Linked DNA regions of Homo sapiens: regions 1, 2, 3, 5, 6 and 7 are each linked to region 4. The links are contacts of gene promoters, found by promoter capture Hi-C in blood cells and fetal thymus (Javierre and others, 2016). All regions are on one chromosome and are shown on one strand. Each heading gives the region's core, a stretch centred on a gene start or on the middle of the fragment in contact. The rest is flanking DNA. Distances are from core to core; before and after follow the strand shown.

What was found. The method cuts DNA at HindIII sites, captures the fragments that hold promoters and counts their contacts. A CHiCAGO score of 5 or more calls a contact.
Region 1: a fragment that was not itself captured here is called in contact with the fragment with the promoter of TXNRD1 in region 4 in 10 of 17 cell types (endothelial precursors, monocytes, total CD4 T cells and 7 more); the score reaches 8.8 in endothelial precursors.
Region 2: a contact is called between a fragment that was not itself captured here and the fragment with the promoter of TXNRD1 in region 4, in 5 of 17 cell types (neutrophils, naive CD4 T cells, naive B cells and 2 more). The highest score is 7.1, in neutrophils.
Region 3: a contact is called between a fragment that was not itself captured here and the fragment with the promoter of TXNRD1 in region 4, in 14 of 17 cell types (total B cells, naive CD8 T cells, naive B cells and 11 more). The highest score is 11.4, in total B cells.
Region 5: a fragment that was not itself captured here is called in contact with the fragment with the promoter of TXNRD1 in region 4 in 1 of 17 cell types (total B cells); the score reaches 5.4 in total B cells.
Region 6: a fragment that was not itself captured here is called in contact with the fragment with the promoter of TXNRD1 in region 4 in 15 of 17 cell types (neutrophils, total CD4 T cells, activated CD4 T cells and 12 more); the score reaches 11.8 in neutrophils.
Region 7: a fragment that was not itself captured here is called in contact with the fragment with the promoter of TXNRD1 in region 4 in 1 of 17 cell types (M2 macrophages); the score reaches 5.4 in M2 macrophages.

Annotation. Positions count from the first base shown.
Region 1 is chr12:105,084,182-105,088,282 of GRCh38, reverse strand. ALDH1L2 (aldehyde dehydrogenase 1 family member L2) reads left to right here and starts at 3,825. Exons shown (of 23, transcript NM_001034173.4): 1 at 3,825-3,894. The coding sequence starts at 3,847. RefSeq lists a silencer at 3,518-3,947. The HindIII fragment of the contact is 2,064 bases long and covers 572-2,635 here.
Region 2 is chr12:104,997,769-105,001,631 of GRCh38, reverse strand. It overlaps NOPCHAP1 (NOP protein chaperone 1), which reads right to left. Exons shown (of 4, transcript NM_152318.3): 4 at 1-3,863. Among named protein-coding and RNA genes, the nearest start is that of NOPCHAP1, 13 kb to the right of the region's middle. RefSeq lists an enhancer at 2,043-2,543. The HindIII fragment of the contact is 3,914 bases long and covers 373-3,863 here.
Region 3 is chr12:105,064,181-105,067,843 of GRCh38, reverse strand. It overlaps ALDH1L2 (aldehyde dehydrogenase 1 family member L2), which reads left to right. Exons shown (of 23, transcript NM_001034173.4): 5 at 1,175-1,276; 6 at 2,488-2,577. Among named protein-coding and RNA genes, the nearest start is that of ALDH1L2, 18 kb to the left of the region's middle. The HindIII fragment of the contact is 7,481 bases long and covers 1-3,663 here.
Region 4 is chr12:104,213,671-104,217,474 of GRCh38, reverse strand. TXNRD1 (thioredoxin reductase 1) reads right to left here and starts at 1,696. Exons shown (of 17, transcript NM_001093771.3): 1 at 1,582-1,696. The coding sequence starts at 1,672. RefSeq lists enhancers at 688-1,303, 1,304-1,920 and a silencer at 1,744-1,833. The HindIII fragment of the contact is 5,942 bases long and covers 1-3,420 here.
Region 5 is chr12:104,936,585-104,940,439 of GRCh38, reverse strand. All of the region lies in intron 1 of SLC41A2 (solute carrier family 41 member 2), which reads left to right. Among named protein-coding and RNA genes, the nearest start is that of SLC41A2, 20 kb to the left of the region's middle. The HindIII fragment of the contact is 437 bases long and covers 1,730-2,166 here.
Region 6 is chr12:105,038,617-105,042,673 of GRCh38, reverse strand. It overlaps ALDH1L2 (aldehyde dehydrogenase 1 family member L2), which reads left to right. Exons shown (of 23, transcript NM_001034173.4): 16 at 1,980-2,067; 17 at 2,868-2,961. Among named protein-coding and RNA genes, the nearest start is that of ALDH1L2, 44 kb to the left of the region's middle. The HindIII fragment of the contact is 6,154 bases long and covers 1-4,057 here.
Region 7 is chr12:105,155,703-105,159,862 of GRCh38, reverse strand. It overlaps WASHC4 (WASH complex subunit 4), which reads right to left. Exons shown (of 33, transcript NM_015275.3): 27 at 3,071-3,137; 28 at 2,541-2,627. Among named protein-coding and RNA genes, the nearest start is that of WASHC4, 50 kb to the right of the region's middle. The HindIII fragment of the contact is 2,572 bases long and covers 857-3,428 here.

The DNA of each region.
Region 1 (4,101 bases), core at 354-2,853, 870 kb before region 4:
ATCCTTGAAGTTGACTGTGGAAGTAAAAATGTTCTACACACATTTTTAGAAGTTTATAAATTATATGACTTGCAATTTCATAAAATTCTGAGTGAACGTTGTGTCTAGGACAAAACAGATCCCTGATCAACGTATTATATTTGCACAAGGCCCCTAATGTCACAGATATTAGTCACTAAACAAAACATTTGTCTATGGCAGAATGAGTAGATTCCAATTTAGGGCCAAGTGCAGTGGCTCACGCCTGTAATACTAGCACTTTGGGAGGTGGAGGTGGGCAGATCACTTGAGGCCAGAAATTCGAGACCAGGCTGGGCAACATGGCAAAACCCCTTCTCTACAAAAAAATACAAAAAAAATTAGCCGAGCATGGTGGTGTGTGCCTGGAATTCCAGCTACCCAGGAGGCTGATGTAGAAGGACCACCTGAGCCAGGGAAGGTCAAGGCTGCAGTGAGCTGTGATCCCACCACTGCATTCCAGGGACACCAATTCCAAAAAATAAAAAATAAAAAAGATTCCAATTTAGTATTCTGTAAACCCAAGACCCTAGCCACTCCTACTATGCAAGCTTTACATAGAACTCTAACTTTCATAGAGTTTTGTGTGGGAATTCTTGGGTTTCAACTTGGCACATCATCTATGTACTTTCTAAAGCGTGAAATTAATCCAGACACTTACAAAAAGTTATTCAAATGATTGTATTTACAAAAATGGCACAAAGTGAATTAAATAGTCTATGCACATGCATATATATATTTGAACTCCATAAAACATTATTATTATTGTTCTATACAATTAATATTAACTTAAATTTGCCCTCATATTAATCCTTTACATTACTATTCATTCTTTCATCTGTGAGTTTCCATCTGGGATTATTTTCTTTCCTACAAACTTATCCAACAATTTTCTATTGTTGTTTGGATATTTGTGTATTTTCATGTATACATATATAAACATAATACTTTATTATATTAATTATAATAATTTATTATTGTTCATGTGGTCAATGTTCACTTTTTTTTTTCTTGAGACAGGGTCTCACCCTGTCACCCAGCTGGAGTGCAGTGGCACAACCACAGCTCACTGAAACCTCAATCTGCCAGCTCAAGCGATCCTCCTTACTCAGCCTTCCGAGAAGCTGGGACTAGAGGCACGTGACCATGCCTGGCTAATTTTTGTATAATTTTTGTATTTTTTTGTAGAAACAGTGTTTCACCATGTTGCCCAGGCTGGTCTCGAACTCTGCCCACCTCATCTTCCCAAAGTGCTGGGAATACAAGCGTGAGCCACCACGTCCAGTCCAATGTTCACTTTAAATTTGCTCACGTCTTTGCCTTTTTTGTTGGGCTTCTTGCATTTCTAGGTTTCCATGTGGGTAAATTTTTTTTTCCTGCTGGAAGGATACTCTTTCATATTTCCTTTATTGTCTGTCTGCCGATGACAAATTCTCTCAAGTTTTTGTTTCTAAAAATGGCTTTGTCTTATCTCTATTTTTAAGGAGTATTTTTGCTGGGTATAGAAATAGATTGGCAGGGGTTGGTCTCTTTGTCAAACTCTAATTGCATCTGATCTAATTTCCAGTTATCAAGGAAACTATACTTTTGATTCTTCCAGGGAAAAAGTAAACACAATGAATATTTCATTATATTTGAGTGAACATAAATTCTACATTTCCTAAACTTGGGAATAGTAATATATAACTATGGAACCTCATTCAGGAAAAAAAAAAAAAAAAAAAAAAAACCCCTCCTTATGCACCCTTCTAGTATACACAGATCAGAATAAATAAAGGGAATATCAATATTTGGAAGTTTAAAAAAGCAAGAAGTCACAAAATGCAGTCAGGAAAGTGGGTTGAATTGGCAAGATGTAGGGCTCAAAGCAAAACCTTGGATGTTTGTTGCAATTCTCCAAGTTTTTTTTTTTTTGAAACAGAGTCTCCCTCTGTCGCCCAGGCTGGAGTGCAGGGGCGCGATCTCGGCTCACTGAAAGCTCTGCCTCCTGGGTTGACGCCATTCTCCTGCCTCAGCCTCCCAAGTAGCTGGGACTACAGGCGCCCGCCACACGCCCGGCTAATTTTTTGTATTTTTAGTAGAGACAGGGTTTCACCGTGTTAGCTAGGATGGTCTCGATCTCCTGACCTCGTGATCCGCCCACCTCGGCCTCCCAAAGTGCTGGGATTACAGGCGTGAGCCACCGCGCCCAACCGCAATTCTCCAAGTTTTAATGATGGTTCTTTTTTGTCTCCTTACTCTCTTAAACACATTCATCCGTTTCAACAAGTTTTTTTTTAACAAGTTATTTTTTATTTTATTATTATTTTTTTAAAGCTCTGGTTAGTGCTAGATACTGTAAATCCTGATTAATCAGACATGGACTTAGCTTGCAAGGAGCTTCCAACAGAGACGTTAATAGGTATACAAATACCAGTAGCAGATTGAGACAGCCATAACAGATGCATAGACAAAGATTATTTCCTGTTAAGAGGAGTGAACAATTATTTATGGGGAATAAGGAGACTAAGAGAGAAAAGAATCAGAAAAAAGCGCCTCCAGGAGGCAGCATGTAAGCGGTACCTTTCAGAAAAGAAACGGTCGTGCCAAGATAATTACAAGTGACAGATGACAAGCTTTTCTGGGAAACATTGTCCAAGAAGGAATAGGCAAGAACTGCAGTCAAGCAGAATTACATATGCAAAAGAGCAGTGAGAAATAAGAGAAAATGGCAAATTGCAGACGGCCCTGAATGCTGGGCTAAGAAGTCTGGCTTGAGATAAACGTCCAGCTAAAGCAGGTCTGAGCGTTTTTTCCAGAGAGGTGAGGGAGAAGGGCACGTATCTATTAGGTTGATGCAAAAGTAATTGCGGGTTTGCCATTATTTTCAGTGGCAAAAACCACAATTACTTTTGCACCAATTTATTTATTTATTTTTAAGACAGAGTCTCGCTCTGTTGTCCAGGCTGAAGTGCAGTGGCATGATCTCAGCTCCACTGCAACCTCCGCCTCCCCGGCTCAAGTGATCCTCGTGCTTCAGCCTCCCGAGTAGCTGGGACTGCAGGCATGCGACATCACGCCCGGCTAATTATTTTATTATTTTATTATTTTTTATTTTTAGTAGAGACGGGGTTTCACCATGGTGGCCAGGCTGGTCTCGAACTCCTGAGCTCAGGCCATCTTCCCTCCTCGGCCTCCCAAAGTGCTGGGATTACAGGCGGGAGCCACCGCGCCCGGCCTACCGTCCTACGAGGTAGGCATCAGGATCCCTCCACAGCGAAGGCGCCCCCACTACCTATCTGTCTACAGGCGTGCCTTTTACGGGCTGTGCTATGGACAGCACTTGGGATGTCAGATTGACCACTAATAAGGTAGATCCGTATACACTGCTGCGGGGCTGAGTAACTGGTAGAGGGTCCCACAGTTAGAAAGCACCTGGACCTTGGCTGGAATTGGCGGAAAGTCCAGGCAGCGGAGAGGCGCGGTCCCTGGGACTGGGTGCGCTCTTGGCACCAGGGTCAGGGCCCACAGGCTCCAGGAAGCCCACGCGCTCCGCCGGGTCGCACCAGGTTGGCTGTCCGAACGCAGCCAGCTGGCGGGGCGGGGCCTTCCAGCTGGGGGCGGGGTCTTGACAGCTAGGGGGCGGGGCCTTGCAGCTGGTAGGGTGGGGCGGGCCGCGGGCTGTGGGCTTTGGGAGGGGTGCGGACTAGCAGAGGCCGAGAGCGGCGAGCCGCGAGCCAGGCAGTCCGGGGCATCCAGACTGCAGGCCGCGCCCAGGCCGCGCCCAGGCTGCGCCGCCCGCCTGCCTCCCGCGCTGCCGCGTCGCCAGTGCTAGCGCTCCTCTCCAGCATGCTGCGGCGGGGCAGCCAGGCGCTCCGGCGCTTCTCCACTGGCCGGGTGAGTCCGGCCCGGGCGAGCGTCCCGGCTGTCACCCTGTCCTGGTTTCCAGACTCCGGGGCGGGAGGGCCGGGGCGGTGGGGCTGGGGATGAGCAGCGATGCTTAGACTTTGCTAAACACCAAGACAGCGTTTAAAACAAACAAACAAACAAACAAAAACAGAGAGACCTCAGAGGAGGGCTTGGGGAGGGTCCCGGATGGGAACT
Region 2 (3,863 bases), core at 1,080-3,579, 780 kb before region 4:
CTGCCCCAGTAAATCTGCTGGGGCAAGACTTGCTCTCCAAGGCAAAAGGGCATATAAAATTCTCTTTCAGAGGGACAAATAATCTTAGAGTTTCCTGACTCTCCTGAACCAGAACTGTTATGCTCTCTAAAGGCAGAAATTGAAAAAATATTGGTGGGATGACTATTCTAAAATTGCTAAAATGGCTTATAACTAATGTTTGGTTTATCAAGCTCATAATCCTGGAAAGATAATCCAAATTTTAGGTGGTACATTTCTACTGCCTCCTGGACCATTTGAATGTTTACAGATGGATTTCATCAATTGCCACCCTTAATGGGATAACAATATGTTCTTATAAAAGTCTTTGTGTTCTCTAGACGGATAGAAGCTTTATCATGTAGGAAGGCCAATGCTATGACAATAAGTTATTAGAAAGTATGTTTCCTTCTGGGGCTTCCCTGGAGGAATTTCCAGCAATAGAAGAACCTGTTTCACTGGACAAGTTATAAAACAGCTAAAACAGTTAATCGAACACAATGGTATTACCATCATCCCTAACACCCTTAATCTTCTGGAAAGCTCAAAAGAACAAATGAAACTTTAAACTGAAATTGGTAAAGTTAACTGAATTGATTGAATTGCCTCGTCCAAAGGTATTACCATTGGCCTTATGGGCAACTAGATCCACCCCAACAGAAAATACAAAATAAATTAGTTTCTTATGAAATAGTTACTGAAAAACCTATGCCCCTAATAATTAAACCTCATATATCTCCTGCTCCTGTAAACTGACATGACTAAATACTGCAAGGCCTTAATGTATTATGCCAAAGTATATTTTCACCAGGTTAAAAAAAAAGCCTTTCACGATCTATCAATGGAGGACAACCAAGCATTTCACAATCTGGAACATGGAGATTGGGTCTTCTGAAAACAACATCAGTGAAACACTGCCCTCAAACCCCTATGGAAGGGACCATACCAAATTCTTACCATCCACACTGCAGCAAAAGTTCAGACCCTCAAGACTTTTGCTGCAGTATGGGTGGTAAGAATTTGATCATGGATCAAGAGTTCTCTTCTCTGTCATCATGATAACTATGTCCCTTTTCTTTTTCCCTTATTTCCTATTGTCTTAATCTTTCCTTTTCCTTACAGGAAAATCCATAGGACCATAATTTGCAATGGCTTTAGGTAAGGCTCATGCTCTAGCAGAAAAAACAGAGCAACTGTTTGGGTTTGTGGGCTAATGGGTAAAAACCAGGAAACAACTCCACTAATGCCAACACCTCTCTGAGTTCCCGAAGAGAATTACCCTGAAACCCCAAAGGAAGAGAAAGCAATCCTTGATGTTCTAAATGTCACTGCTATTTGCTTGCCTACACTCACTGAAAGGAATATCCCAACCTTTCCAATTAATAACCTAACCACTATCAAATATAGAACATCAAACCAAGTGATGCCTACAAAAGGTATATTATGCTTCCAGGTATCACATACTCAAGACTTGGGGACTATCTATGTGGGCACCGGTGATTATTTGTATAATGTCATTGGATTAAATATAGTAAGGTGCTTTTCCACTAAATGTGGTTATACACATTATGCTATAAAGGGAACAGGTTGGAGGCAAGATGATCAGCTAGATGCAGCCAGAAGGAACATCTGCCACCAAGAGACTGGGATATCAGGAAGACTGGTGCACTCCCAGCAGATCTTCAGAGGGAGGGCACTGAGAGTGGATGAAGGGAAGACACAGATGCTGGGCTGAAGAGGGAGGAAGCGGGGAACCCTGCAAGGGGCTACCACACACTAAGACTCGTTCCTGGCCCCCGACTCCTGGAAAAGGGGTGAGTTGAGCAGGCAAGCAGCAACTGACTCCCACCACAGGCCTCTGGAATCTGGCAGGAGACCCCAGGACCCCCATGGACTCTTGAGCTTGCAGGGAGAGCTGCTTAGAGAAGTGGTAGGGCAGAATTCTAGCTGGTGCAGAGCCCAGAGGCTTTGGTGCGGGAGCATCTGTAGTGGATCATGGCCAGGGACGCCCATCACCCATGACTCACCTTGCTCCCCTAAGAGACTTCAACCCTAGAGGAACTATCAGACTTGAAAAATGCAGGGCAGTCTTGCCTATGAGACCTGGCCGATCGGAACTAAGCACTCCTCAGTTTCCTGACCTCTCCCTGGGCCTCAGCCTGGCTGTCCCTGCTTGCAGTGCAGCCTTAGATGCCCAGGTGGGGTGCGTCCTGGGGGCCTACGCTATAGCACCTGAGTTGGCAGATCGTGCCTGAATGGCAGAGAACTCCAGTACTACCCCCACCCACAACAGACCGTGCACCAGACCACCTGATCCCACTCTCTCCTCCCACTGCAGACTCCCCCATGGCACCTTGCCTGCAGACGCTGGCATGCAGCCAACCCCCGAATCACTTTGCCAGCACCTGTGTACACAGACCTCGCCTCCAATTTCCTGCCAGTGTGTGGGTACATGTGCACCTGGCCATGCCACTACTGCTGGCTTGAGCACACTGCACCCGACCACCATGCTGCCACTGCCACTGGAGTATCTGCAGGTACGGAGACCACCAGTACCCCACTCCGACACCAACACTGCCACCAGCTGCAAAACTAGGCACAGTGACCAGTGGACCTGCCCTGCGCCCTGTGCAGCCACTGCAGCCAGCATAAACGTGCGCACATTTGGCACCAGTCCCGCAGCCACCAGTACCCTGCCCCTGTGTCAACACTGCCAGTGGTGTGAAACTATGCATGGAGACCAGCAGCCCGCCCCCTTACCCTGAGTGGCCACTGCTACCCATGTAAGCACACGCACAGAGGGCACACAAAATCTAGCAGCAGCCACAGCGCCCCACCCCCATGCTAACACCACAGCCACTACAAATGCCTGCACAAAAACAGCACCCTTGCAACTGCCAGCACCCCTCTGAAGCTGATGAGTGTGCACCGCACCCCACTGCTATTGCTGGCATGTGCATATGAGGACAGATCCCACTGCCACTGCCATACAAAGCACTTTGGCTGGCACCACCCATTGAAGTGTTCTGACCAGTGGTCCAGAAATATCTTGGCCCCTCTAGCACAGCAGGTACCTAACCTCCAGTGGCCAGAGAACAAAGCCAGGGGCCTGATATCAGCCCCCCAGAATTACAGCATACAGTCCAGGAATCCTGAGTTGAGCCTTGGCCCCTGAAAACCTTCTAGAAATGAAGCCAGTTGACTAAACCCACTTTATACCACAATTAAACACACAAGGACATAAAGTAGGATAAAAGAAAAAAAATCATCCAAAGGATAGCAACTTCAGCGACATGAGCCCACAAAGATAAAAAAGAATCAGTGCAAAAACTGACAAAAGCACTAGAGTATCTTCTTACCTCCAAAAAACTACACTAGTTCCCCAGCAATGGTTCTTAACCAGGCTGAGATGGCTGAAATGGCAGAAATAAAATTCAGAATATAGACAGGAATGAAGATCATCAACATACAGGATAAAGTCAAACCCAATCCGTGGAATCTAAGGATTACAATAAAATGATACAGAAGCTGATAAACAAAACGGCCATTATAAGAGAGAACTAAACCGATCTGACAGAGCTGAAAAACACACTACAAGAATTGCATAATGCAATCACAAGTATTAACAGCAGAATTGACCAAACTGAGGAAAGAATCTCAGAGCTTGAAGATGGCTCTCTGAAACATCTTTTTCTTTATTGGAGAAAAAAAACAATAAAGAATGGACAAAACTTCCGAGAAATATGGGATTATGAAAAGAGACCCAATCTATGACTCATTGATGTGACTGAAAGGGAGAGAAACCAAGCAACTTTGAAAACATATTTCAGGATATCGCTGATGAA
Region 3 (3,663 bases), core at 435-2,934, 850 kb before region 4:
CATAGCATTTTGTGTGTTCAGTGATATTTGCTGAAGCCCAGATTCTAGACCTAGTTATAGCCTAGATGGAGGTGGGTGGAATGAGCTGTAAACTTGGCTCTGTTCCCCTGTGGCTCCCTCCGTGTGCTCTTGGGTGGGTTGGTCAGCAGCTGTGAGTCCTTAGAGAGAAATCTGAGAACTTGAACTCACGTGGGCCTCGCAGTGAAAATGGGAGGCTCTCGACTCAAGGCAAACGTAAATATAACAGAGAAGAAAATGCAGGACACCTCCCAAAGGCAATCAAGCTCATGGATAGATTTTAACTTTTTTTATTCCAGGTCTCCTAAACTAGAAAGCAAGTTGAATTCATTAAATACAGTAAGGTATCATTTTTTAGAATCATCATGATGAGTAAAATAACTCATAAAGACTTATTTTATCATTATATTCCTATCATTTCCAGTGAATCACTAAGGGAGGTGGCAGTTTGTTTAAACAAGGGAGTCATTTTTGAGAGTGCAGACTTCGATTGGCAATAGATAGACCTGGATACAAATCCTGTTTCTGACACCTACAAGCTCTCTCTGTGATCTTCAGCCAATTGCTTAGCTCTTTTTCTTTTTCTTTTCTTTTTTTTTTTTTTTTTTTTGAGACAGAGTCTCGCTCTGTCGCCCAGGCTGGAGTGCAGTGGTGTGATCTCGGCTCACTGCAAGCTCTGCCTCCCGGGTTCACGCCATTCTCCTGCCTCAGCCTCCTGAGTAGCTGGGACTACAGGCGCCCACCACCACGCCCGGCTGATTTTTTGTATTTTTAGTAGAGACGGGGTTTCACCGTGGCCTCGATCTCCTGACTTCGTGATCCGCCTGCCTTGGCCTCCCAAAGTGCTGGGATTACAGGCGTGAGCCACTGCGCCCGGCCTTGCTTAGCTCTTTTTCTGTCAGTTTCCTCAGGTGTAAAACAGGAATAACAATATACACCTTGCAGGATTTGTGTTATGTTTTCAAGGGATATTTTACATAAAGTAGCTACCACACTGCTTGTCAGGATGGACCTGAAGAAATGGTAGTTATCATCATACTCTTGACTCTCTGAACAGGTTTATAGGTAGTAATTCTGTTATGCAGAAACTTTAGTCAAATAGACCATGCCATTGTTGATCATTGGGCTGTAACACAGGTGATGTCTTTGGCCTTAGGTAGAAGCTGTCCAACTCATAGCTGATGGAAAAGCTCCTCGTATACCCCAGCCAGAAGAAGGGGCAACATATGAAGGTATCCAGAAAAAGGAAAATGCTGAGGTATTTATATATCAACTCAATAACACGTCTCAGAGTTCATGGCCCTCTACCCTTCAGTAGTTCCCCACATACTATGATCTTGCCAAAAGGTAAGCCAGCTTGCCCTAGCCCTACCTGTTAGAGTAGACAGGTAGCCAGACATACGCAGGAGAGGGGAGTCCCCTAAAGAAAATAAAGTCTAGGAAGACTCGTGTCTGGAAGACCACTCAAAATTTGCATATTAATAGTATCTCTAATGCTGGAGTGGGTGGGCACTTAGTCAAATGTGCATAGAAAGGAGAGGAGATACTATGCAAACAAACAAACAAACAAGCAAATAAAAAATGCCCAGAAACGCCTCTTCAGTCTGCCCAACAATCCTTCGCTCTGCAGTTAAAATGTCAAAATATCACTAGCTACATGCTAATGAAAAGGGCAAAGGGGATATTCCTTAAAAAATCTGGCATGCTAGGTGCGCTGGGCACAGTGGCTCATGCCTGTAATCCCAGCACTTTGGGAGGCTGAGGGAGGAGGATCACTTGAGACCAGGCATTCGAGACCAGCCTGGCCAACACAGTGAGACCCCTGTCTCAAAAAACAAAAAACAAAAACCTGGAGCCATAAGTTCAGCTTAGGGCAGAGAAGGAAATTCCAAAAAAACACACAGATGCAGTAGGTATAGATTTGGCCACTATACAACCTCCCTGCAGTGACAATAGTAAACAACACAGGCATCAGGTAATATTCATATCCAACACCAATCCACACATACACACCAACTAATAATATGGAGGGTCCCATAAACCTGAGACAAAATCTAGGTGCGGACAAAGCAGAGAGCTAAGACAGACACAAACAAACTAGACAAAAAAAAAAAGAGGCAGAGACTTAACAGAGGTGGGAACTTCAAAAAAAAGTTCAACCTAATAAAAACCCAACATAAAACTCTCCAACAGCTACTGGCCTACTCCCCTCAACAGCCCGCTCTACTTCATCTTTACAAAGCATACTGTCCCTTTAAATAACCCTCTGCTTTTTATTTTCCTTTAATAAAGTCTCTTGTTTACTAAATCAGCCACCTGACAAAATACTTACTCCAAATAAAACTAAGAAGCAAAAATTCCTTTATTTCCCAATAACAAGTGTTTCTGCCTCTGATGACGAGAAGCGTTTTTATTGCCTTTGAGGTTCACAGCCATAGGAGGCTCAGCCTGTATTTTGTGCCTTCCTAGATTTCTTGGGACCAGTCTGCCGAAGTTTTACATAACTGGATTCGAGGTCATGATAAAGTCCCTGGAGCTTGGACAGAGATAAATGGACAGGTATGTTTTAGGGACCACTCCCCCCACCCCCCTCCCCGATTATTACCTTTGTAAGAGATATTACAGATAAATCTGGGCTTCCCATGGTTCTTCCTTGGTCATGAGGCAGGTCTGTGATTCACTCTCCCCTTTACTCAGCATGTATTAAGCATTTATTGTGCAGCAGACACTAAATCCAGCGCCTGATCTAAGGAGCCTGCAGTTTTATGGGGAGTGCAGAGAAGTGAATAAACATTCTCAGTGCAGTAAGATAAACGCTATCATGGAGGCTGAGACTCAGGCATGTTAGGAAAGGCTTCCTAGAAAAGCTCACTGCTTTGCTCGAGAAGAGTTAACCAGGTTGAGAGCAAGACAAGTAGGTGAAGCCCCAGAGATAAGAGACTCCAGCACCTGGTCAAGGACTTGCAAAAGGAGTTCAGTGAAGCCAGGGTCTGAACTGTGAGGACAGGCATGGGGAGAGCTGAGGCGGGAGAGGCGGGCAGGGCCTGAAGGGTCTTCTATCCATGGGTAATTGACTCAGCCCAGGCTCTCAGGTTTCACCTCTTCGGGGAGGTTTCCTGATCTCACATGCCCAGACTGGCAGGGTCTGATGGCCCATCTCTGGGTTCCAGCAACACTCTGCCTACCTCTGGCATCGCACATCATATATTGTGAGGGTCTCTTTATTCCCCCCAACACTAGACTGTGAACTCCTTAGGGGCAAGGGCTTCATGTGATTGTCTTGATAATCTCAGCAGTTAAGCAGGAGTCTGGGTACATACTAAGTGCCAATAAAAATCCATGGGCTCGATGGGTGACCAAGGGAGGGAGTTTAGTGTAATGGTTAAGAGTGCAGGATCTGAAGCCAGAATGCTTCTATGAAAATTTACTGTGTAACCTCGGGCAGGTTTCTTAACCACTGGGTGCCTTGGTTTCCTCAATGTAAAATGGGACTAATAATACTGCCTCCCTTAGGTTATGGGTAATTGTGAAGATTAAATGAGTTGGCCAGCCATGGTGGCTCACACCTGTAATCCCAGCACTTTGGGAGGCCGAGGTGGGAGGATTACCCAGGTCAGGAGTTCGAGATCAGCCTGGCCAACATGG
Region 4 (3,804 bases), core at 447-2,946:
GCCAGGCGTGGTGGTGCATGCCTGTAATCCCAGCTACTTGGGAGGCTGAGGCAGGAGAATCGCTTCAACCTGGGAGGTGGAGGCTGAGGTGAGCCAAGATGGCGCCATTGCACCCCAGCCTGGGCAACGAGAGCGAAACTAAAAAAAAAAAAAAAACAAAATTGTTAAGATGGTAAATTTTTTTTTTTTAACCACACACAAAAAGAATGTAGCTAAAGAAAAACAGTAAATAAATGGAAGGACATAGATATCAAGAAGATCCTGAGGATGGCACATGAAACGTCAATTTGGGATGCACCTGCTCAAACTCCTTCATTGTACTAATGGCCACAAATTAGCTGCCTGACCTGGACCTTGCCTGACCTTGCTCCTACCCTGTTCCTTTATTCTTCCCTTCCCCTAATCCAAGTCCTTAACTCCAGCAGGATATACAGGCCTCCCTATCTCTAGCATGGTCTCACCGGCTGCTTCCCCTAACAAGAATGTTCTCCCTTCAGACACCTCTACCAAATCCTACCTCATCTATGGGAGCTGCCATCCCCACTTGGCTGTTTTTACCACTCCTTTTAGCCCTTCACCATATGCTGCCTTGTAACTAAACTGTAAGCCTTTGAAAGAGGCAGATCCTACAGCATTTAATAATTCTAGCCATTGGGCAAGGCACTTTTTGGAGCCTCACTTTCTCAAGCCTATAAAAAAGGTGGAGGCGGCCATATGACTATGACCAGGGCTTTTGAGTCAGATGGCCTCAACTGGTATCCCAGCTCTTCCACTTACTAGTTGTGTGCTTTGGGTAAGTTTTATAACCTCTTTGCTTCTCAGTTTCTTCATCTGTATAATGGGGTTTATGATAAATCTCTCAGTATGGCTGGAAACATGAACCAAGATTATTACCCATGTCTAGTGCTTCCAAAGGCCCCTCTCATGTCAGTGCTTAGTAACCACTAGCCATTATTGGCATTATCCGGACAATGGAGAAGAGACTGGGAGCTTTCTCTTCTGGAAGAACAAGTGAAAGGATAAAGCGGGATGATGGTGGGAGAAATGTGCCCAAAATTCAAGGGGATGGAGAAAGGGGGCCGGGAAGGCGTGTCGGACAAGATTCTCGATGGAGGAGGATGCTGGGAGTGGGCCGGGGGCTTCTGGAGAGGTGAAGGGGCACCCCCGGACTCGGCTGTCGGTTTGGTCGCTTCCCCCGTAACCTTTCATTGGAAACACGGTGCTTGTAGGAAGAGGACGCCCTAACGGGCCCTGAGCGAAATCAGGCGGGTCGCTGCCGAGATCTCGGTTCGGTTTCCGACAGGTTTCCGGGCAGGTCCTCGCGGCGGGCCCGCTCCTCCTTCCACCTCCCACCTCTCTCACAGCCAGCGGGCGGGGCAGCCCTCGGCCGGCCGCCGGCCTCCGTCTCCCGGGGTGACCTGGGGGAGCGTTTCTGGGGTCTCCAGCGTGGCGCGCGGTCAGTCACTGACTCCAGTGAGGGGCTTCAAGGCCAGGGCTCCGGGGCACTTTATCCCCAACCCCGGCCGGAAGGCCCGCTTCGGCCCGTCGACCTGGGGACCAGGCCTTCGCCCTCGGTCGTACCTGACCTACGGCGGCCATCGCCGTTCTTGCCTTTCGTCTGCAGCTCCGTTGGGGCGGCCGCCGCCACTGCCTTGCCCTCGGCGCAGCCCATGTCGCACAAGGCCCTGTGGGAACTGACGGAGCCGAAGGACGCCTGGCGGAGGCCGCGAGCCCCCTGCCGGCCGCGGGTCGGAGAACGCGGTGGGCGGGGCGCTCGGTGACAACAGCGAAGTCATAGCCCGTGTATCTTCTTCAAGGTCGTGAATTTTTTTTTTTTAACAGGAAAGAACGGTCGCTAAAGGTAAATTGGAAAATGCAGAAATGGAAAGGAGAAAAGAGCGCACCACCCAAAATCCTTATCCTTCGGCTGGGCGCGGTGGCTTACACCTGTGCACTTTGGGAGGCCGAGGTGGGAGGATTGATCGCTTGAGCCCAGGAGTTTGAGACCATCCTGGGCAATGTAGAGAAACCCTGTTTCTACAAAAAATAATTTTAAAAAATTTATCCTTCACACAAACTACTTTTGCTGTGTTTACTATTTCTTTCCAGTTTTTCCCCTCTATGCATAGTTTTGCATCCAGCATTTCACTTAATACTAGTATTTTCCATACTATCACATAGTCTTGTAAGCCTCCCAGATAACCACCTGGCTTCCACTGTCACTTCAGTCTTTGCCTCTTTGACCGTAGATGAAGCATACACTGAACATCGTAGTTTCTTTTTAATACACTTTATTTTTTAGAGCAGTCTTTTTTTTTTTTTTTTTTTGAGACGGAGTCTCACTCTGTCACCCAGGCTGGAGTGCAGTGGCGCGATCTCAGCCCACTGCAACCTCTGCCTCCCAAGTTCAAGCGATTCTCCTGCCTCAGCCTCCCGAGTAGCTGGGACTACAGGCGTGTGCCACCATGCCCAGCTAATTTTTTGTATTTTTAGTAGAGACGGGGTTTCACCGTGTTAGGCAGGATGGTCTCGATCTCCTGACCTTGTGATCCGCCCGCCTCGGCCTCCCAAAGTGCTGGGATTACAGGCGTCAGCCACTGCGCCTGGCCTTAGAGCAGTCTTAAGTTCACAGCAAAAAGACCATCCTATTTGAACAGAAATCTGATCACGCCCCCCTCAACTCTACCCCCACCCTTTACTTTACTCTATTTTATTTTTACCAGCACTGAGAGCCTTCTAACTTACCCTATATTCTCTGTCACCTGCTCCCACTCCCTCCGCCAGCCTCCCCACGACACCCTGCCCATGTAAACGCTGCCAAAATAGAACCTTTGCATTTTTTTCTTGTATCTTGGCCTTCAGCTTGGGCCAGGTGGCCTCCCCCACCTCTTGAAGGAAAGCAGGGAAGAAGCGGGAAAATATTAATTTGAATAATTATAATAATGTAATAGTCCATCCACTAGAGCTACTGGACGATTACATAGCCTATTATTAGATGTTTAGTTTGTTTTTTATTTTTAAAAATTATGAATAAGGCTGCAGGGAACATCTTTGTGTTTATAGTTTTAAGGCTGTCATTACACGTTGCCAAAATTGCTTTTTTGGAACTGTGGTTCCCATTTGAACTCCTACTAGTAATGAATGAGAGTGATTTTTTTTAACACCAAACCACATTGCGGCACATCAGGTGCACAGTCACTGTTCTCTATCAGTGCAGTGCTCTGTTTTTCCTTCTTTCAATTAACTAACATATGGTAAGCATCCAACTTATGCCTGGCTTTGTTTAGGGTTACAAGGTGACTCAAATTCCCTGGTCTCAAGGAACTTCCACCCCAGCTGAGATTTAGTGAACTTGTCTGGTCACCAGATGCGTGGCAATTGTGTGGGCCCTTTGTTTTCATTTGGGTTTGTGGACAAGCTTATATCCTGCTTCTCTGGAGAGCAGCCCAGAGTCAAAATGCTCTTGGAAAACACTGGGTGTTTATTTGCTTAAACACAGAAAACAAATAAAACTGAACCAAAGGCTTTTTTTTTTTTTTTTTTTGGAGATGGAGTCTCGCTCTGTTGCCCAGACTGGAGTGCAGTGGCACGATCTCGGCTCACTGCAAGCTCCGCCTCCCGGGTTCACGCTATTCTTCTGCCTCAGCCTCCCTAGTAGCTGGGACTACAGGCGTCCACCACCACGCTAATTTTTTTTGGTATTTTTAGTAGAGACGGGGTTTCACCATGTTAGCCAGGATGTTCTCAATCTCCTGACCTTGTGATCCACCCACCTCAGCCTCCCAAAGTGCTGGGATTACAGGC
Region 5 (3,855 bases), core at 699-3,198, 720 kb before region 4:
ACATGTGCCATGTTGGTGTGCTGCACCCATTAACTCGTCATTTAACAGTAGGTATATCTCCTAATGCTATCCCTCCCCCCTCCCCCCCAGGTGAGCCTTTTTAAAAAAAATAAAAATAAAAATAATAAGGCTGGGCTCGGTGGCTCACTTCTGTAATCCTAGCACTTTGGGAAGCTGAGGCAGGTGGATCACCTGGGGTCGGGAGTTCAAGACCAGCCTGACCCACATGGAGAAACCCCATCTCTACTAAAAATACAAAATTAGCCGGGGTGGTGGTGCATGCTTGTAATCCCAGCTACTCGGGAGGCTGAGGCAGGAGAATCGCTTGAACCTGGGAGGCAGAGGTTGCGGTGAGCCGAGATCACGCCGTTGCACTCCAGCCTGGGCAAAAAGAGTGAAACTCCGTCTCAAAAAAAAAATAATAATAATAGGAAACAGAAACGTAGAGGAGGTATACTTTAAGAAAAAATTAAAAGAACAAGGTACCCTTGCAGAGTGGCAAAAGTAAGAATATATAATAACCATAAAATAAGTCTATTTCTAGGTGTGTCTGTATGTGTGTATGTGTGTCTGATAGTACTGTGGATCTTAGTATGTTTATATAAATATACATATCTGCTCAACAAGTTCTGGGATATTCAACTAAATGAAATAATTACTGGTAATAGATTGCATTAAAACTTTTTCTTTTATTGTTGTGGGAAGAAAACAAAATGTTAAACTCTGATTTAATACCATCCTTAGTAATTAGGAATGACCTGTGTCTCCTGACTTTCAGCTCTACTGGATTTCCTAAGCATTGTTATTTAACTTTTGCAATGGAACAGAATGCCTCTTTCAGTACGATAGGCAGAGTTTCTCCAATATTCTGGTTTGGTAAATCCACATACATACAATATACTTTGTTTTCTTTATTTTTAAAAATAAGCAATTTTATGGCTGGGCATGGTGGCTCGTGCCTGTAATACCAGCACTTTGGGAGGCATAGGCAGGAGGAAGTGATCACTTGAGGCCAGGAGTTTGAGACCAGCCTGGGGAACATAGCAAGACCCTGTCTGTACAAACTATTTAAAAATTAGCTGGGTGTGGTGTCCTGCACCTATAGTCCTAGCTACTCGGGAGGCTAAGGTGCAAGGATCACTTGAGTCCAGGAGTTTGAGGCTTTGGTGAGCTATGATTGCAACACTGCACTCTAGCCTGAGTGACAGAACAAGACCCTTTTTTATTTTTGTAAGTAAAGTTGAATTCATAAGGAGTGTCTGGTCTTATTTTCCTTTAAGTCAATGATTCCCTGACATGACTCTATAAACCAGTGGTAAACTATGACAAAGGTCTCACAGGAAACATGAAATGAACTTTTCCATAAATCTAAATGTGTTCAGTGAAAAGGACTGCCCTTTAGTCTGAGATTTTGTCCTTTCTACATTTTTGGTGTTAAAATGTATACTTATTTTTTAGGAAAAGATTGTTTTTAACTTTGTAAAATTTTGGGAGGAAATTTTGGTTTTTGAGATTCAAATGTTTGGAAGCCAGTGTTTTAAAACTCCTTGTCCATAGACTGCAATCTTTAAGTGCTCAGTATATCAGAGAGACTCTCCTAAACTAAAATGGATAGGAATTTGTGGGTCAGATTACTTTTTAAAACATATACTTTTTAAGTTAGCTTTTGTTAGGTCATGCTGTGATAATAAACAATTCCAAACTCTCAGTGGCTTTCTGGGACAAAGCTTTATTTCTTTCTCCTGTTATGTGTACCCTGTTGATTGCTGTGGGGTGGCTGTGGTTGCTGTATCTCTCCATCTGTCGTTGTCTTGGGACCCAGTCTGAAGAAGCAGCAACTGCCTAGGACATGCCATTCTCATGACAGAGGGAGCAAAGAGACATAGCTGAATTGTTTCTGTTTGTAAGTGTTGCTGCTGCTCTTATTCTGATGGCCAAAGAGAGTCCCATGGCCAAACCTGATGCTAATGGAGATGAGGAAGTAGAATTCTCCTACAGTCCTTGCAAATAACATGGCAACAGGTAGAGACGAGAATCCTCCTGTAGGAGGGGACCAATAACGGGGAGTAATAATAACATCCATCACAGTATTAATCACATCGAAGCAGTCTTGTATATGCACAATTTGAAGAACAATAATAAACACTAGGTATCCACCACCAAGCTTAAAAAATATAACCAATACCTTTGGAACCTCCTGGGTGCTTTTGTATCACTTCACCAAATGTAAGCACTCTTGAAATGTGTGTTTGTCATATCCTTATTCTTATATTCCATTGTATAGATATGCCACAATTTATCCTTTCTCATGGATTAATTCCATTTTTTTTTTTGCTAGTATGGATAATGCTACCAAGAACATTCTTTCATGTGTCTTCCGGTGTACAGTGTGAATTTCTTTAGGGCAGGGATTTAAGGATGGAAATGCTGGACTGTGGGGCACATGCCTCTCAGTTTTGGTAGATAATGCCAAATTGTTTTCCAAAGTGCTTTTGGCAGTTTATACTTGCACAAGTAGGGCTGTATGCATTACCACTGCTTACATCCTTGTTCACACTTGAAAGCCTGGTAATATCAAATGATTCCTTTTTGAATGTATTGGGAGGTGCTTCTCAAAGTAACACAAATCCTTTGGGATACCATTTAAAGTACAGACTTTGATTCAGGAGGTTGAGTTGGGATGGGAGCTGACTGAGGTCCTGCATTTCTTAGTCTCCCAGTTGATGCCATGCCACTGGACCCAAGACCACACTTTGATAACAAGAATCTAAGGCACTAAATACAGTCATGCATCACTTAATGAAGGGCTTAATGATGGGGATAAATTCTGAGAAATGTGTTGTTAGATGCATTTCATCATTGCGTATCATAGAGTATGCTAACACAAACCTAGATGGTAGAGCCTACCACACGCCAAGGCTGTGTGGTATGGCCTATCGCTCCTAGGCTACAGTACAGTAACGTGTTATACAGGTTTGTATAGCACATTACTCTACTGAATATTATAGGCAGTTGTTACACAATGGTAAGTATTTGTGTATCTAAAAATAGAAAACGTATAGTAAAAACACAGTATAAAAAATAAAAAATGATACACCTGTATAGGGCATTTACCATGAATGGAGTTTTCAGTACTGGAAGTTGCTCTGGGTAAGTCAGTAAGTGAATGGTGAGTGAATGTTAAGGGCTAGGACATTACTGTGCACTACTGCAGACTTTATAAACACACTTAGGCTACACAAAATGTACAAAAATATTTTTCTTTGTTAAACTATAGCTTACTGCAACTTTTAATTTTTCATTGTTTCAATTTTAATTTAAAAAATTGTTTAGAGGCAGGGTCTTGCTCTGTCATCCACTGGGGTGCAGTGCACAATCATAGCTTACTGTAATCTTGAGCTCCTGGACTCAAGGAAAACTCCTGCCTTGGCCTCCCAAAGTGTTGGGATTACAGGCATAAGCCATTGCACCCAGCCTGTAACATTTTTACTTTATAAACTTTAAATATTAAAAATATTGACTTTTGTAATAATACTTAGCTTAAAACACACACACATTGTACAGCTGCACAAAATATTTTCCTTCTTTGTTTCCTTATTCTATATACTTTTTTCAATTTTTGTTTTTTTCTTTTACTTTTAAAAACCTTTTTATTAAAATCTAAGACACACACTGATATAGTTTGGCTCTGTGTCCCTACCCAAATCTCATCTTGTCGCTCCTGTAATTCCCACATGTTGTGGGAGGAACCCAGTGGGAGGTGACTGAATTACGGGGGCAGGTGTTTCTTGTGCTGTTCTCATGATAGTGAATGGGTCTCATGAGATCTGATGGTTTTAAAAAATGGGAGTTGCC
Region 6 (4,057 bases), core at 1,214-3,713, 820 kb before region 4:
CAACATTCTCTGAATGGATGTTTTGAATAGTCCTGACTTTTGGAAGCATAGTCCCCATATTTAATGACAGCAAAGAAAAGAAATATAATCAACAAAGATGGGGCCAAAACCCTAAAATTAAATATAAACAAAACAAATTAAGCCATATTTCAAATGAATAACATGACCCCATTGAAGAGAATGAGGAAGCATGAACCCAAGTCACTTTTGACTAACTTTGGACTATATGTCCTCAGGATAAAGGCAACGCAAAACAACAACAACAAAAAAACCCAAATACATATTAAACTCTAATTAATAGGCTTCTTTTTCATAGGGACATGGCTTAACAATTCTCAAATTACTTTCTCTATGTTTTAGGATTAAGCAAATAAGTAAATGTATTGTGGATAATGGGAGCCATGTCTCTCTTTCTTGGAGAAGAGAATGACAAATGTAAAAAGGGCAGAAGGATAGAATCGACCCTAAGATATCGGATAAAGGTATCAGTGTAAACTCATGGGTTTTAATGTATTTAGATAGCTAAATAAAGAAATGGATATAGGTATATGAGGGATAGATACACACATACATGTAGACGTGTGTGTGTGTGTTGTGTATACATACATCTCTTTCCCAGCTCTGTCTGCTAAGAGGGCCTAGAAGCGATGACCCCTCAATAATGTCCAGATATCTTGGTTTCTAAAATACCATTCTTCACTCAAAGAAACTTGGGCTCCTTGGAGAAGTAGCTGGAGTAGGGAAGAATCAAGATGAATCTGAAATATCTTGTTGGGCCTGAAAGCAATGTAATGCTCAAAGTAATAGGGGCACGTCAGAATGATAAGGGGCCGTACTGAAGGGACTGCCTCAGCCAAATCTAGAACAATTGAACATCAAAATCAGTAACAATAGTAAACGATGATAACCTGCTGATTACAGTAAGAATCTTTGTGTTCACACTGATATTAATTAATTGAACAGAATGGAAAACACTTAGAGTAGAGAGCCAACTACTACACGTAAAAGGAATGAGGGAATTGGAAAATCACCATTTGGCAACCATCATGATACTTTAGGATTATTATCCAGAAATTATCCATGGACACTAAAACTAGTGGATAAAAATTTGAGGAGTATCTCCCCACAAAATATTTGTTAACTACAATGTATAAAATAGTAATTTACAGTGATGAAAGTTGGCAGACCACATTTGCCAAATAATCAAAACTAACTTTCCAGTATTGGAACTATTCTACAGCACGTGCCTCCTGATGTCCTGAGAAAAGCTCAGCATCGCTCCGGTGGCATTGTTCCCAAAAGTGCATAACTTGAATCTAACCATGCAAAAACATCAGACAAATCCAGACAAAGAGACATTGTATGAAATAACTGGCCTGTACTCTTCAAAAATGTCAGTGTAATGAAATAGAAAAGAGAACTGAGAAATTCTCCTAGATTACTGGAGACTACAGATAGAACTAAATGTAATGCAGATGTTGGATTTTCTTTTGCTGTAAGACATTATTGGGATAATTGGTGAAATCTGAATATGGTCTGCAAATCATGTATTCTATCAATTGTTAATCTCCTGATTTTGATGATTGTACTATGGTTATGTAAAAGAATTTCTTGTTTTATAGAAAATGCACACAGAAGTATTTAGAAGTATGGGGTATGTCTTTACCGTATTCTTAAACAGTTCAGAAACAGATATTCCTTAAATTTATCTTTAAAAAATAGTTTAGAAAAATATATACAGAAAGATAAAGCAAATGCAGTAAAATGTTAACATTTGAGGAATCTGAATGGAAATGTATATAAGGAATACTTGTACTATTTTTGCATCTTTTTGTAAGTCTGAAATTATGGCAAAAAAATAAGACAATGTACAATAAAAATAAAATGAGATCTAGTGCAGCTATCAAGGGAAAACTGGGTTCTGGGCTAAAGGTCAGGTTAGGGCCTGAAGAAGGTAATTGCTGTTTGCTTCTCCTCAGGTCACGCCCTTGACTGCTTTGAAGTTTGCAGAACTGTCTGTGAAAGCAGGCTTTCCAAAGGGGGTCATCAACATCATTCCAGGCTCAGGTAAGCCACTAAATGACCGACTGTGCTATAACTAATGAATGGTACTGGGGTAGCTGAGTGGCTCTTTTACCTCTAGAGACTTGTCCTGAATTATAACTGTATTAAAACTAAATACAATTCACCAAACAGTTAAGGATGAATATACTTACCATGTGCTAAAATCTTAAAATGGAAATACAGTGGTGGGTGAGTGGCAGTGGGGAGGGGGGTTGTACAGTCATGTAAAATTACCCTAAGATGTTCCATTTTGATTTTCAAAAACTACTCTGGAAGATAAAAATCAAGGCTTACCCATCATTATTTTGGGAGTCTGATAATTTCATAAAGGGTATTATTTCAGACTTTTATCAGTTTGTAATTAATACAGAAAATGTAAAACTAAGGTGTCAAGGAGAGCTTAGAAATCTACTTCAATGAATTTAAAGCCATCTTCACTATAAGAATTTGAGTAAGGTTTTTTTTTTTTTTTTTTTTTTTTTTTGAGACGGAGTCTCACTCTGTTGCCCCGGCTGGAGTGCAAAGGCGCGATCTTGGCCCACTGCAACCTCCGCCTCCTGGGTTCAAGTGATTCTCTCTCAGCCTCCTGAGTAGCTGGGATTACAGGCGTGTGCCACCATGCCTGGCTAATTTTTATATTTTTAGTAGTGACAGGGTTTCACCATGGTGGTCAGGCGGGTCTCGATCTCCTGACCTTGTGATCTGCTTGCCTCAGCCTCCCAAAGTGCGGGGATTACAGGCGTAAGCCACCGCGCCCGGCCTTGAGTATGTTTTAATTCCCGTTTTATTCCCTAATTCTACAGGTGGCATAGCAGGACAACGTCTGTCTGAACATCCTGACATCCGCAAACTTGGTTTCACTGGATCCACTCCTATTGGCAAACAGATCATGAAGAGGTATTGGTTTTAAAATGTTGATTCACTGCAGATCCTGTTAAACTAGGTTTCAATTTTTGTTTAAACAGGGTACTTTTTGAGTGAGAAAAACTACATCAACTTTGGAAGGGAAATCTACTTATCACTGCTGAGTATTGAAATATTTGAATACAATAAAATACTTTCCAAAGCATTAAAGCCCAGAGTCAATAAAACCAAAGCTATGTTGAAATTCTGTGCCCTACTGGTAGTTTTAACAATTCAGCACAAAAGACTTCCTGTATTAAAGCTGTGGCCCAAATTGTTCTCAGAGTATGGGTAAAAAACCAAAAAGATACATAAATGTGAAATTTATATATTTTATATGACAAACCTGGATTATTTATAAATGGAGTCCGCCAAAGCAATTTTTTTTTAAGCTGTAAGCAATCTAAATGTCCAAAATAAAGCAGTTGTTAAAATATGTCAATGTAATGGAACACTGTGCAGTCATGTTCATAGAGAATTTTAATAACATTGAAAAGTGTTGTTAAAATAATAAATGGAAATAAAAATAAAGTATAACATTGTATACACTGGATGATCTCAACTATGTTAAACAACGCAAAAGCTATGGTAGGACAGATCACAAATAGGTAGTATATCAAAATGGTAAAAACAATGGTCACTGAGGCATGGAATGGAATTTTGTGATTTTTTTCTTCTGTTTGCATTTTGGGGTAGGTATTTTCAAAATGCTTTAAATAAAAATACTTTTGTAAGAAAGGAAAAATAAGCAGCGTACTTTTAAAAATTGATATTTTTTCTCCCAATGCTTCGGTAGTCTGGTTAGAGGTTTAATTCTTTTGCCAGGCTTTTATGTAACCAAAATTTCTAAAGAATTTGAATTAACTTTTGACCACAACATTTTTGAAATTTTTTTATTATGGAAAATGTCTAATACATAGAAAGCAGAAAAGCAAAATGAATTTTATGTACTCATCACTCAGCTTCAATGGTAATCACCATTCTACCATCTGTTTTATCTATGAATAACTTTTTCCTTTTTCTTTCTTTTTTTCTTTTTTAAGAGACACGGTCTAACACTGTCACCCAGGCTGGAGTGCAGTGGTGATCA
Region 7 (4,160 bases), core at 893-3,392, 940 kb before region 4:
TTCAGAATAAACTTATTTTCTCATGGACAGAAAACTGATCAATATTAGTAAATTTAGTCCCAAAAATAGACTATTAGAACATCTTGGGACTTAAAATAATAGTTCTGTATTTCTTCTTCCCACAGTGAGGCCTGTAGAACTCCTCTTCATTGTAAATATTTCCTCTTCCCCTTAAATCTCTAACGTTTCTCCTACATCCCCTTACCTCAACATAAACCTGGCTCTTTTTTTCAAGAACTCAGTTTCCCTCTCAACCTTCAAAAACATCAGCTGCTTTTTCTCCTGCATCCCTCATGTACAGCTACTACCACTTTCAATTATTATTCCTCCACCACTGTAAGAAAGAAATCTTCCTTTGTGACTCACATAATCCAACTATATCTAACTACCCAAATACTCAACTACTTCTTCCTAACAGCAGACATCTACTAACCTTTTAACCACCGTCCTACAATTACGCAGGATTAGGATGCCTGCTCCAGTTCTCCCCTGTCTATGCAGATAATCTATTCATTATCATGACCCTACATTTCCTTGACTTCAATCAACCACTCCCTTGCACCAATCTGGATCTTCCAACTAGCAGTCAGCTTTACCCTAGAGATCTTAGAAGACAATATCCTACTCTCTGATTTCCTCACACTGCTTCAAAATATTTTTTAAATGGTCAACACTTTCGGAGTGAATGGCATCATTTAACATAAGGTAAAGGTCTGATCCTTTCCTTTGAGACACACATCAGAAACTATTTAAACCATTTTCAGGCACATGACTTCAAATGGCTTAACTTTGTAAATGGCTTATGTAATCTGGCAAAGAGCTTAAGCTATCTAACAGACTATTCCAGAGCAAAGCTTCTGTGCTGGGGCCTTATTCTCACAGAAATGCATGCATTTTCCCATATACTTTTTTATTTTTTAAGATTTCAAGCCTATCAAAAAGTTAAAATATAGTATAATGAACACCCGTATACCCTTCAACTAGATTCACCACTTGTTAACATTTTGACACAACTGTTTTCTCTATTTTTCTGAAACACTTGAAAGTTGTGGACCTTTTATCACTTAGCCCATTAATGCTTTAGCATGAATCTATTAAGAATGAAAACATTTTTCTACAAAGCCACAAAACACTGTTATACCCAAGAATATAATACAGTATTAACTAATATACAATCCATGTTCAAATGTCCCCCAATTATTCCTCAAATGTCCTTTACAGCTGTTTCTTTCCTTATCTAGGATATGATTAAGTATCACCCATTACATGTGATTATCAGGTCTCTTTATTCTCCTAATCTAGAACAATCTCCGTGTATTTTTTGTCCAGGCCAAGTGTTTCATAAAATGCTCACATTCTAAATTTTTCAGGACATTTCCTCCTAATAAATTCAGGATAAACATTTCTGGCAAGAATACAAACTAGGTACTTGACATTACATTGCATCAAGAGGCCACATTACATCTGTCTGCTCCATTACTGGTGATGCTAAGTTTGATCACTTGGCCAAGGTGGAATATATTTCTCCACTGTAAAGACAGTTTTCTCCTTTGTAATTAATAAGCAATTTTATGGGATGAATTACTGAATGAATCCTCTGTTCTCTAAAAACTTTTCACCTAATGTTTTAGAAACCACTGGGGATTCTTGCTTGATTTCAAGTATTACAGTGATGGTTACAATTTCCCCCCTAAATTTAACAAGCATTCTTCCATAAAGAAATGACTTTCATTCTCTTATCATTATGATCTTCTTATGATAACCCTTCTTATCATTATGACTCATTGATTTTTTTTATTCAACAGATTTTTATCTATCATTATTCTTTTTGATCAAATTGTCTCCCCCTTGCCCAGGGGTGCCCCTTCATGCCTGATTCAATAACCTGCTATAAGTGTGAATAAAACATACAGTTTTCTAAACATATTCTTACCAATTCTGCATGCCTCTCGTGTTATGGGACAAATGCACAACTGACTCAAGTCCTGCACTGTTCAATAAGACAGACATTAGCTATTTAAATTTAAATTAAGATAAAATTTACACTTCAATTCCCCAGTCGCATTTGCCATATTTTAAGTGTTTACCGGCCATATATGGTAGTGGCTACAGTGCTGCTATAGATTACATATAAGAAAGGACTGGCATTCTAGAACACTGTTGGTGAAGAGAAATATTTTAAAAAGTAAAAAGAAAATAGGTGAAATGAATTTTATGATTGAGGTATTTGGCATTCCTCCTTTTATACTAAATCTTCAAGGTTAGTTATGTACTTTATACTTGAGCACATCTCAGTGTGGACCAGCCAAATTTTAGGTGCTCAAGAGCCATGTGTGGCTAGTGGCTGAAATACTGGACAGCATGTTCTAGAAGCTGGAAAGGTCTTAGAATACTGAAGTCTTAAAAATTATACTTCATAAACTGAGGCCATAATTTTGTATAATAAAAACAGTGGCATAAAAATTACATATTACCCTCTGGTCTTCTCTTCAGAATGTTTTTTATAAACACACTTTTTTATATTTCCAAATTTAGATTACCTTGCTGCTTTTAATGTTTCTTCTGCAAGACCTTCTTCTTTTACTAGTTCTTCAAAATTTACAATATCTTCAAGATCAGGAACAAATCTACATAAGAATTTGGGAAGGCATTTATTAGGTCAAGTAAAATATGTGCAATTGACACAGATATAAAAGTGGTACTGCAGGACTCTAAAATTTTCAACTATGTATTTGGAAACAACTGTGCATTTCAGTAATATTATTCATATCACCACTTTAGTTCCAAATTGAATTTTAGATATGAATATTTTAATCCTTAAAATCATGTAATCTTTACATGCATTCATAAACCATATTGATAAATTAACTTAAGAGAAATATTTTCAGAAGTCTGCTGCAGTCTTAAAATTTGAGAAAAATCTAGTAGAATTAATAGTTTTCTTCCATATTTTATCTCAAAATATATCAAGAACAAACACCTTATCTACAATATCACTTGTAACATATATTTAATGGACACAATTTTTAAAATGGCATAAACAAGGCAAAAATGATGTTTGCATCCATACCTAATGGCATTGCTGCTACAATGAAGACCACCAGATCTTATCATTCGTACATAGCCCATAGCATTACCTTAAAAACCACACAAAAAAATCAGATATTTATATAAATAACTCTAAATTCTAATAGGAATATAGTTACATACAGTAGTAAATTACAAGGTTTCCACTCCTAAGAACCAAAATATTTTGCTATATTTTACTTCAGTTCTTATCATAAAAAGTAAAACTGTTACATATTTCTACACTTAAAATATAAACATACATACTTATATATAACTATATTAAATATTTAAAAGTAAATGTTATTTTCATTTGATAAACTAAAATCATTAAATGCTGACTACATTAAAATGGTCAAGCTTAAAATTATAATATCAATAATTTCTCCTCTCACATTGAGATTCAATCTCCGCCACATACACAATTGGAAGTGATATCAAGAAATCTTTATTTGATGCCTCCCAAATTTATATCTCTGGCCTGGACTCTTCCTCTGAACTCTAGGTTTTTTTATCCGATGCCTACACTTTTATGTCTAATAAGAATTTTATATTTCATATGTCCAACTCAAGCTCAGGATCTTTATCCCCAATTTTGCCTATCAAAGAAACTGGCAATTCTATCCTTTCAGTTGCTCAAGCCAAATGTCTTAAAGTCATCCCTGGCTCCTTTCTCTCACATTTTATAATCAAAATGACTGGGCAAATTATATTGACTTTGCCTTGAAAACGTAGCCAGAATCCACCCACTTTTCATTCACCCCTTCATAGATATCCTCCTATCCAATCCATCACCAGCTCTTGGCTGGAGCACTGCAATATGCAATGGCCTCCTGATTTCCCTACTTTCACCTTTAGCATCCTGCCACATTCCCCAGTGTTGTATAATATCTACAGAGCTGCTAGTGAATTTTTAAAAACTAAGTTAGAGCGTATAGTGCTTTTTCTTTTTTTTGAGACAGAGTCTCACTCTGTCACCCAGGATGGAGTACAGTGGTATGATCTCAGCTCACTGCAACCTCCGCCTCTGCAGTTCAAGCGATTCTCCTGCCTCAGCCTCCCAAGTAGCTGTGATCACATGGCGTCCGCCACCA